Regions from separate parts of the Homo sapiens genome. Here all the other regions are linked to region 1. The links are contacts of gene promoters, found by promoter capture Hi-C in human tissues and cell types (Jung and others, 2019). All regions are on one chromosome and are shown on one strand. The core of a region is centred on a gene start or on the middle of the fragment in contact, and the rest is flanking DNA. Distances in the headings are between cores, read along the strand shown.

Region 1 (3,633 bases), core at 356-2,855:
AGTGCTAGCAAAGGATGATATTATGCTGCTCTTGCAACTTGTATCCCCAGATCTACATGAACCTTAAAAAAACTAGAATCCCAGTGGTTTAAGCAGTAAACTAAATGGGCATTATTGACTCTCAGTAAAAGCTGAATGGAAACTTTTGTCATTGTCTATTACAATCCCAGCAAATATGGCCATGAGGAAGCAAAATAGCTTCATTCTTGAACACTTTCCAGTAGAAGAAAAAATGAGAAACTAGTAAAAACTCCACTTACTAAATAGCTGATTTGCTAAAGCAGACCTCATTCCATTTAAAGACTCAGTATCTATAGGGCCAAGGCAAACTAACTTCTTAGGCAAAAGAAAAGGTAGAGTCAGAGTTCAGGACCACTCTGAAAATTAATTCTTTACATGATAATATATTCTAAGTCACATATGTCTATGTGATACTTCTCCTAAGGGTTCTCGAAGTATAAACTAACCTAACACATTACAATAGTTGGTGATTCTCTAACAACTCTGTCCAACAAAATTTCATTGCTTAATATACATCTCTCTCATTGGATTTTCTGCTGTATCACATGAGAAGCACTGATATTGAGTTCCTGAAGATACACAAAATATTTGCAAGATCAGTGTTACAAACCTATGGCAAATAGAAGACTGTGATAGGAGGACATTCTGTCCATTTTTGCTTGATCTTAAAATCTTATCATAATATGTGGCTTTAACCTGCACACCTTTGGGCTGCCATTGACTATCTTATGGTTATTGCTTATGTTTGATCCTCAGTTCTTCAGGATGTTTTGTAGACTTTGAGAATTCAATGCAAATAGCTTGTATCATATGATTTATTTCTAGTACAGTTATTCAACACATCAATATTTATGTCAAGTGCTGAAAAGAAAAAAGTGTTGGCAATATCTGGATGAATACTGCAGCTAGTAAAGTTTACAAATTATTTTCTCATATTAAGCAAAATTCAAAGCTTCATACACTATGAGAAAAATTTTAAAAAATTATTGATTCATATATTTAGTAGTTTTCAATGATTCAGTATGTAATTACATTCATATTAACGTGTATTTATATAGCTTTTATATTGCATATGTAATTTGATAAAATATAATTTACATTAATGAATTACACTAAAAGTTATTCCAGAAATATACTTATCAAATTAAGTTATATGTCAACAGCTTTTAAACTTAGATTTTAGTTTAACTTTTCTGTCATTCTTAACTTTACATTGAATAAAAAGAGCAAACTTTATAGTTTTTATCTGTGAAGTAGAGGTATACGTAGTATACATAAATAGATATGCCAAATCTGTGTTATTAAAATTTCATGAAGATTCCAATTAGTAAAAAATACCATAAAAGTCTTTGAGTGCAGGGGAAAAATAGGCAATGATGAACAAAATGAAAAACATATGTAAACACATGTAGAGAGTGCATAAAGAAAGCAAAAACAGAGATAGAAAGTAAAACCAGGGCATTTAGAAAATGGAAATTAGTATGTTCACTATTTAAGAACTATGCACAGAGCAAAGTCTTCAGAAAACCTAGAGGCCAAGGTTCAAGTTTACCCATCTCCAGTAGCCTAGCAATATTTGCAACATCCCAATGGCCCTGTCCTTTTCTTTACTGATGGCCGTGCTGGTGCTCAGCTACAAATCCATCTGTTCTCTGGGCTGTGATCTGCCTCAGACTCACAGCCTGGGTAATAGGAGGGCCTTGATACTCCTGGCACAAATGGGAAGAATCTCTCATTTCTCCTGCCTGAAGGACAGATATGATTTCGGATTCCCCCAGGAGGTGTTTGATGGCAACCAGTTCCAGAAGGCTCAAGCCATCTCTGCCTTCCATGAGATGATCCAGCAGACCTTCAATCTCTTCAGCACAAAGGATTCATCTGCTGCTTGGGATGAGACCCTCCTAGACAAATTCTACATTGAACTTTTCCAGCAACTGAATGACCTAGAAGCCTGTGTGACACAGGAGGTTGGGGTGGAAGAGATTGCCCTGATGAATGAGGACTCCATCCTGGCTGTGAGGAAATACTTTCAAAGAATCACTCTTTATCTGATGGGGAAGAAATACAGCCCTTGTGCCTGGGAGGTTGTCAGAGCAGAAATCATGAGATCCTTCTCTTTTTCAACAAACTTGCAAAAAGGATTAAGAAGGAAGGATTGAAAACTCATTCAACATGGAAATGATCCTCATTGATTAATACATCATCTCACACTTTCATGAGTTCTTCCATTTCAAAGACTCACTTCTATAACCACCACAAGTTGAATCAAAATTTTCAAATGTTTTCAGGAGTGTAAAGAAGCATCGTGTTTACCTGTGCAGGCACTAGTCCTTTACAGATGACCATGCTGATGTCTCTATTCATCTATTTATTTAAATATTTATTTATTTAACTATTTTTAAGGTTTAAATCATGTTTTATGTAATATCATGTGTACCTTTACATTTTGCTTAATGTAACAATATATGTTCTTCATATTTAGTTAATATATTAACTTCCTTTTCATTAAATTTTTACTATACAAAATTTCTTGTGTTTGTTTATTTTTTAAGATTAAATACCAAGCCTGACTGTATAACCTGACTTAAAAATAGATGATTTAAGTAAGTTACCTATCATAATTTTATTCAAGTTATAGAAAAATATATTTTTCTATACCACGTTATATGTTGCCTTCAGGATATAAACTTGAACATAAAAAATACAGTTCTTGTTGTCTTGTATCTTTGATTTTTGTCAGGAAATGTTTCTAAAAACAATAATAATGCTGAATTAATATCAGTTATACTAACTGCTGTAATGTGAGGAAGTAAAAAAAAACAATGAATTCCTCTTAGCAGAACATAGATTAAGAAATGTCTGCAAGTAAAAGTAGAGATACTCTCTATAAACTGACTTTCAACATGTAATTGAAAATGTACATTGCAAGTCAGATATATGAGTTTGCAGTTTCCAAGGAATACGATATCTGGAAGTTCATAACTGGCAATGGAAAGGCCTAAAATGAAGGCTGTCATGTGGGGAGCAAGCGGAGAGGGAAAAAAAGACTTAAACTGGATTCTGAGGAACTTCCACTATTAAAGTGGGGGAACAGAAGACACACAAAGAAAACAGAGGTGGAATACCTTATCATTAGAAGGACGAGAGGGAATGATGATAAAATGTATTTAGAAGGAATGATGATAAATGGTGCTGGAAAAACTGGATAGCCATAGGCAGAAAATTGAAACTGGACCACTTCCTTACACCTTATACAAAAATTAACTCAAGATGGATTAAAGACTTAAATGTAAAACCCAAAACCATAAAAACCCTAGAAAAAATGTAGGACACAGGATGGGCAAAGATTTTATGAAGAAATCGACAAAAGCAACTGCAACAAAAGCTAAAACTGACAAATGGCATCTAATTAGAGAACGTATGCACGCAAAAGAAACTATCCATCATCAGAGTGAACAGGCAACCCACAGAATGGGAGAAAATCTTTGCAGCCTACCCAACTGACACAGGTCTAATATCCAGAATGTACAAAAAAGAGCTTAAATTTACAAAAACAAAGAGCCCCATCAAAAAGTGGGTGAAGGATATGAACAGACTCTTCTTAAAAGTAGA
Region 2 (3,269 bases), core at 663-3,162, 560 kb before region 1:
GCACACTCTACCTTTCTCAATATTAGAGCACTCCAGCTTGATGTTCTTGCTTGGTCCTGCCTTCTTCACTGCCTGTACTCACTCCCTAGACCATTTCATCCAGGCACATGGCCTCACACAGCATCTTCATGCTGATGATAATCCCCCTCCGTCCTTTCTCCTAAGCTCTAGGTTTAAATATCCAATTGCCTAGTAGGTACATTCATTTGTGTATCTAAGAAGCATAACATGTTAAAACCAAAATTTTTTTTTCTTCTCACATCTGCTCTTTATATGGATTCCCCTTGGCTTATCCATCCCCTAAACTGCACAATCAAATGTCTAGGCACTATCCTTTTTCTTTATTTTCTCAAATTTGACTTTTTTCCTTCTCTTTTCCTTCCTTCCTTCCTTCCTTCTTTCCTTCCTTCCTTCCTTCCTTCCTTCCTTCCTTCCTTCCTTCCTTCCTTCCTTCCTTCCTCTCTCTCTCTCTTTCTTTCTTTCCTTCTTTTTTTTCTTAAAGCTCTTACTCTATCACCCAGTCTGGAGTGCAGTGGCATGGTAACGGCCCACCACAGCTTTATCTTCTCGGGCTCAAGCAATCCTCCCACCTCAGACTCCCGAGTAGTTGAGACTACAGGTATGCACCAGCACACGTGGTTATTTTTTTCTATTTTTTGTAGAGATGGGGTGTCTTGCTATGTTGCCTGGGCTGATCTTGAACTCCTGGGCTCAAGCGATCTTCCTGCCTCAGGCTTCGTAAGTGCTGGGATCATAGGCAAGAGCCATGGTGCCTGGCTCACATTTGGCATATCTATCATCAACAAGTCTTGTCACCTCTACTTCAAAAAGTGCCTTGAATTTGTTAATTCTCACTGTCTCCACTTCTATCATTTTGGTCCACACTATTATTATATCTGAGTGTTGTATTAATCTCCTAACATGTCTTCCTATTTCTGTTCTTGCATGCTTTCAATCAATTCTTCACACAGCAGCAGATTGTTTTCAAAATATAAATTTGGTCAATTAACCTGGTTTAAACCGTCCCATAGTTTGCTGTTACACTGAGAACATGGTAAGTCCTTACTAATGCTCACAAGGCTGTTTGTGATCTGGCCCCTGACCCACCTTTCTGATGTCATCTTTACCAGCCCTCCCTTACTCCAAGCTGGCTGAATTTGCTTCCTGCAGTGCACCAAGCTTGCTCTATCTTTTGGGTCTTTGTACTTGATCCTTATACAGCTTATTCCCTTATTTCATAGAAGAGATACCTTCCAATTCCGAGATCTCCCTTATCTAAAGTGAGGCCAAGGCTGCACATTTTATATTCTCTTACTTTCTGATATTTCCTCCATATTACTCATTTCTCTTGCTAGAATGTAAGCCTCCTGAGGTTAGAAATTTTATGTCTTGCTTATAGTAGCATCCCCAATGCTTACCTGAGAGATCCTCCGTACATATTTGTTCAATGAATTAATAAAATGTTATCACTAAAACTGATGTTAATATTCATGAAAAGAGATTACCTTACTGATGTTACCTCATTATTCATTGAAAACAAACATGAAACTATTCATGTGTTCATGTGCCACCTAAAACCATCTTGCCTAATTTTGAATGGCACTCCAGATGCAACACTTTGATTAGCACTATTTTCTATCCTGTGAACATTTCTACCCAGGGTTTGTTGGCCCTGATTGGTTCAATCAGGCATGGGTACCTGGCCAAAGGACAACCAATTTATTATGGTTTGATTATCAACCGGATTTGAAACTGACCAAAACATGCATTATTACCTAGTTAGGCTGAAGCTTGCTTTTGGGTATGGTGGAATACCTAGCAAATGACTATCATTACTGTCTTATTTATAATATTAGAAAACTTAAATTATCTTGAATGTCCAATATAAGAGGACTGGGTAAATACATAGAATGAGATGCTATATGGCCAGTAAAATGATTCGATTAAAGACTTTTGAAAGATATGCGTACTATATACTGTGTATTTTGAGTGAAAAAAATCAGAGAGCACAATTATTTATGCAGTATGACTTTAGTTTTATTAGTTTTTTCTTTTTGTATATATAGTTTCACAAAGAAAAAAAAACCTAAAATTTAAAAGGGCTTCTTTTTTCCTGGATGCTACCAATGAGGACTCTAGGAACATCCCATTGTAGGTGGTTTTATTGCTTCCATATAGTTTTATAAATAATTTCAAATTAATTTAATTAGAATAAAAATTATGTTATTTAGAAACTTTCCATAAAAAGAGCATGCTAAAATTTTATGCATTGTTTAAAACTAATTTATATTCTTGCATTATATGTGCATTGTATATAAAACTATATATAAAGTATTATATTATTATATATGGTTATGCAGTATATATTTATATCAAGTAACAGGTTAGAATGGATTGTATATATTATTTCTACACACACACATGATTTCATAGTTTAGTGAATTATTTGGCAACACTTGAGCTACTACTTCAGTTCAAATTCTGAAGAGTGTTTTATGGTGATTCCTTTAAATAATTGCCAAACATTTGCTTTTTTTCTAAAGAAACTACAATAAAGATAAATAAGTCTAAGTGCAATTATATCAATTTATGAGAATTAAAAAGTTAAAGTCCTATTGTTTAACAGTCAAACTGTGGAGTGATGAGAGCTTCATGGTAATATTATCATTCATTTTATAAATTCAAACATATTCTGGTTAGATTATAATGACCTCCTCTTTAACCTCTAGATACTGCATGCATATAAAGTAGAAAACTCAGCTGTTACACAGTAAGCCTCTAAGAGCAGTTTATTAGAATTCAAATATTAAGGCTGAGGACTGACAATTATGTGGAAGAACAGCCTAAAGATGATGTGTAAGAGCATAATAAACATAAATTTAAAGTTGAGAAGTGAAAGTAATGGGCTGAGTTTGTATTTAATTAGGAAGGCTTTCAGTTTCTCTAAAATCCAGGCTCAGCCATAATTCTTTTGTTCATTTATTTGACAGATATTTATAGAGCATCTGCTGTGCCAACTGCTAAGATTCCAGTGGTGAAAAAGAGAAATAACTCCTACCTTTTTGAAATAGACTGTATGCTAGTCAATAATTACACAATTTATCAGAAAATTATAATTATAATCCATATGAAGACACTGAAGTGGAGTAACATCCAGTCTGAGGTGAGATGTAGAGTCTCAAGGGATCTTTCCTTAGAGAGGAATATTTAAAGCTTCTCAACCCTATTGACCTAAAGCACTCTGGCAGGGGGTGAAATCTCTTTCTTTA
Region 3 (3,147 bases), core at 29-2,528, 570 kb before region 1:
CATTTCCTCTACGTTTTCTTTTAGAAATTTTACAGTTTTGGGCTTTACATTTAAATCTGAAATCTATTTTGAGTTTATTTTTGTATATGGAGTGAGATGAGGGTCTAATTTCATTCTTCTGTGGGTGGATATCCAGTTTTTCCAACGCTGCTTATTGAAGAGACTGTCATTATACCCACTGTGTGTTCTTGAAATCTTTGTCAAAACTACATTGACCACAAATAGGAGTTTATTTCTGAAATTTCTGTTGGGTTCCACTGTTCTATATGTCTGCTTTTATGCCAGTACCATGCTAGGATTTTTAAATTCTTGTTTTTCCTTTTATTTTTAGTTGGCACAAAATAATTGTATGTATTGTGGGATACAGTGATATTTTGGTACGTGTATATCATGTTGTTTAGGAAAAACTCTCAAACCATTTTTCCTGTGCTCTCACACCATAACAATCAACACAGGAGACTTCTGTGATCCAAAAATATGTGTTTATTTTCCCCCTCCAGCAAGCAAGCAGTCAATTCTGCAGGAGGACCCAGCTGGGTGTCCTCTAATTTAATTCCAACTATCTACCCAGATAAATCATCAGATCCCACAGGTTAGGAGCTTACTCCCACAAGCCCATCCCCTCCTTCCCCCCGGTTGCAAGTCCAGGCTTCTGGAACTTCGGACTGACTGGCTTCAAATTGGGGTTCCCGTGAACCTCCTCCCCCCACCTTTGGGTTCGATTAATTTGCTGGAGTGGCTCACAGAACTCAGGGAAACACGTTTACTGATTTATTATGAAGGGTATTTGAAAGGATATGAATAAATATCCAGATAAAAAGATACATAAAGTGAAGTCTAGAAGGGTCCTGAGCACAGGAACTTCTGTTCCCATTCAGCTGGGGTGCACCACCTTCCTGGCACGTGGATGAGCTCTTCATTTCATATCATGGAGATATGGCGGTCCTGTTGTACTGGTGATTGTTTCAAGTGGCTGGACTGATGAGTAGGCATGGAGTATTGGTGATCATCTAAGAAGCATCTTATCCAACTGTGAAAATATCTCTGGAGCAGAGGTGTGCAAAGGGAAATATGATGTTGCTGAGGGCTTCCTAGAGCTCCCCAAAAGTCATGTACCAGATACACAATTTTTTCCTAGACCATCTGACAATAATTGCCACAATTAAGTTAAAGCATTAGACACAAATCTTGCTCGTAAAGTAATATATTCCCATCAAGCTCATTTATCTCTTTATTTAAAAGTGTCGGCCGGGCACGGTGGCTTCCGCCTGTAATCCCAGCACTTTGGGAGGCCGAGGCAGGTGGATCACCTGAGGTTGGGAGCTCGAGACCAGCCTGACCAACATGGAGAAACCCCGTCTCTACTAAAAAATACAAAAATTAGCTGGGCATGGTGGCGCATGCCCGTAATCGCAGCTACTTGGGGGGCTGAGGCAGTAGAATCGCTTGAACACGGGAGGCGGAGGTTGCAGTGAGCTGAAATTGGGCCATTGCATTCCAGCCTGGGCAACAAGAGCAAAACTCCATCTCAAAAAAAAAAAAAAAAGTGTTAGTTTATAATGCACTTAAAGAGGAAGCAACAAGTTGTCTGTTCTGTGTGTCATGAGTGGATTATATTATGTTCACTGATCCAGCCCATCCTCTCCCTCCTCCCCTCTCTTCCCTTCACCTTCTACCCTCTTTTCCTCTCTTCCTCAGGTTACTTATAAGGGCAGCCATCACAGATTTGCTACAACTGAACTGACAAACTCAAAGGACACTTCAAAACAGATTTCAATTGAATTTTGTCTTGAGATTCTTCATTTTTCTTTCCTTGTCATGTTGGCCACAATTTGGTATCCAGTTATCTCAAATAGAGTGTAATTCATAGGTTCATGATATAGTTATGTTCATTAGATGAATGAATAAGTGAATGACTAAATGAATGAATGAATGAAGAACACATTATTATGGTTTTAGTTTTAGCAAAAGAGGAAGTTCAGAAATGCTAAGGAACCTGAACACCAGGGGGCATCAAAAGTTTGCTTTCTTTTTTTTTTTTCTCAAACCTGCCTTTTAAAATAGTCTAAAACTTGAGTCATATTGGCTTCATAAGAGAAAGTGCGAGAGAGAAAGGGGGAAGGGAAAGAGAGAAGTTATAACTTAAAGGTTAATTCTAAAGTGGTAAGTGTACTCTACTGCAGTTTACTTAAGTTGCTTCTACAACAGTGCACGTGGTTTTTCTCATAGTTATATACCAATGACCAGCAGATGACACCACTTCTTATGACCAGCAGATGGCACCACTTGACCTTATGGGTCAAGGAGTACAGTTGTAGGACCAGATTTTGGAGGATAAAGAAACATATATAGGGGATGAAATCTTTCACAAACTTTCTGTAGAAAAACTACTAAAGTAAAGTAAATATTAAGTAGAGAATTAATCCCTGTAGGTCTCAAATACCTTAATTTTTAAAAGGTAGAATTTTAACCAGAGGTATATTGTTCATTTTGAAACAGATAACTAAAATGTTTTTACATGTCAAGTTTAAGCCTCAGAAAAGGTGAGCTGTAATTGATAGAAATAATTTGGATTTCACTGTGTACTTTTAGAATATTCCTTTATCAGATTTTTCAATGACCAATTAATTCACAGATATTAGCCAAAAGAAAGACAGTTGCACACAGACACAATACTGTTAGATTACTGATTAATAGCACTAAATGATTTCCTCCATTGTCCTTGGCTATATAATTTAAGTGTCAACAGAGTACTTCAGGTTCCCTTATGCACTATCAGTTATTTACCTTTTCTAAACATTTAACTACTTTAGTTGGATACTTATAATCAGATAAAAACCGGAACAATGTCTGTAGTTAGAGTACTTGTAGTGCAAAGGAAAATGCAGACCCACTGGTTTTTGAGAGTGACAGCACTTGACCCGAAGCTTTAAACGTGCTTGTGAAACTTCCATCTGGGTGAAGGAGTAGAGGCCAGACTAGCACTTAGTTTCTTTTTAGATCTTCCATACCTTAGTCACGCAGATAAGTAGTAACTGCTTGAATGGGAATAAAAAGCATTCCGTCGGATTTCTGTGTATAATGAAAAGTCCCTGTCTTTGGCTCTTTGATTTCCCACATGAAGCTCAGCTTGGATATTACTACGAT

The links. Contacts are between HindIII fragments. The study calls those that stand out against the background at their distance.
Region 2: a fragment that was not itself captured here is called in contact with the fragment with the promoter of IFNA16 in region 1 in 1 of the 25 tissues and cell types used here (spleen).
Region 3: a fragment that was not itself captured here is called in contact with the fragment with the promoter of IFNA16 in region 1 in 4 of the 25 tissues and cell types used here (aorta, lymphoblastoid cells, mesendoderm cells and 1 more).

What each region holds. Positions count from the first base shown.
Region 1 is chr9:21,215,283-21,218,915 of GRCh38, reverse strand. IFNA16 (interferon alpha 16) reads left to right here and starts at 1,605. Exons shown (of 1, transcript NM_002173.3): 1 at 1,605-2,543. The coding sequence starts at 1,611. The coding sequence ends at 2,180. The HindIII fragment of the contact is 8,956 bases long and covers 1-3,633 here.
Region 2 is chr9:21,772,808-21,776,076 of GRCh38, reverse strand. No RefSeq gene overlaps it. Among named protein-coding and RNA genes, the nearest start is that of MTAP, 28 kb to the left of the region's middle. The HindIII fragment of the contact is 4,969 bases long and covers 1-3,269 here.
Region 3 is chr9:21,788,741-21,791,887 of GRCh38, reverse strand. No RefSeq gene overlaps it. Among named protein-coding and RNA genes, the nearest start is that of MTAP, 12 kb to the left of the region's middle. The HindIII fragment of the contact is 5,476 bases long and covers 1-3,147 here.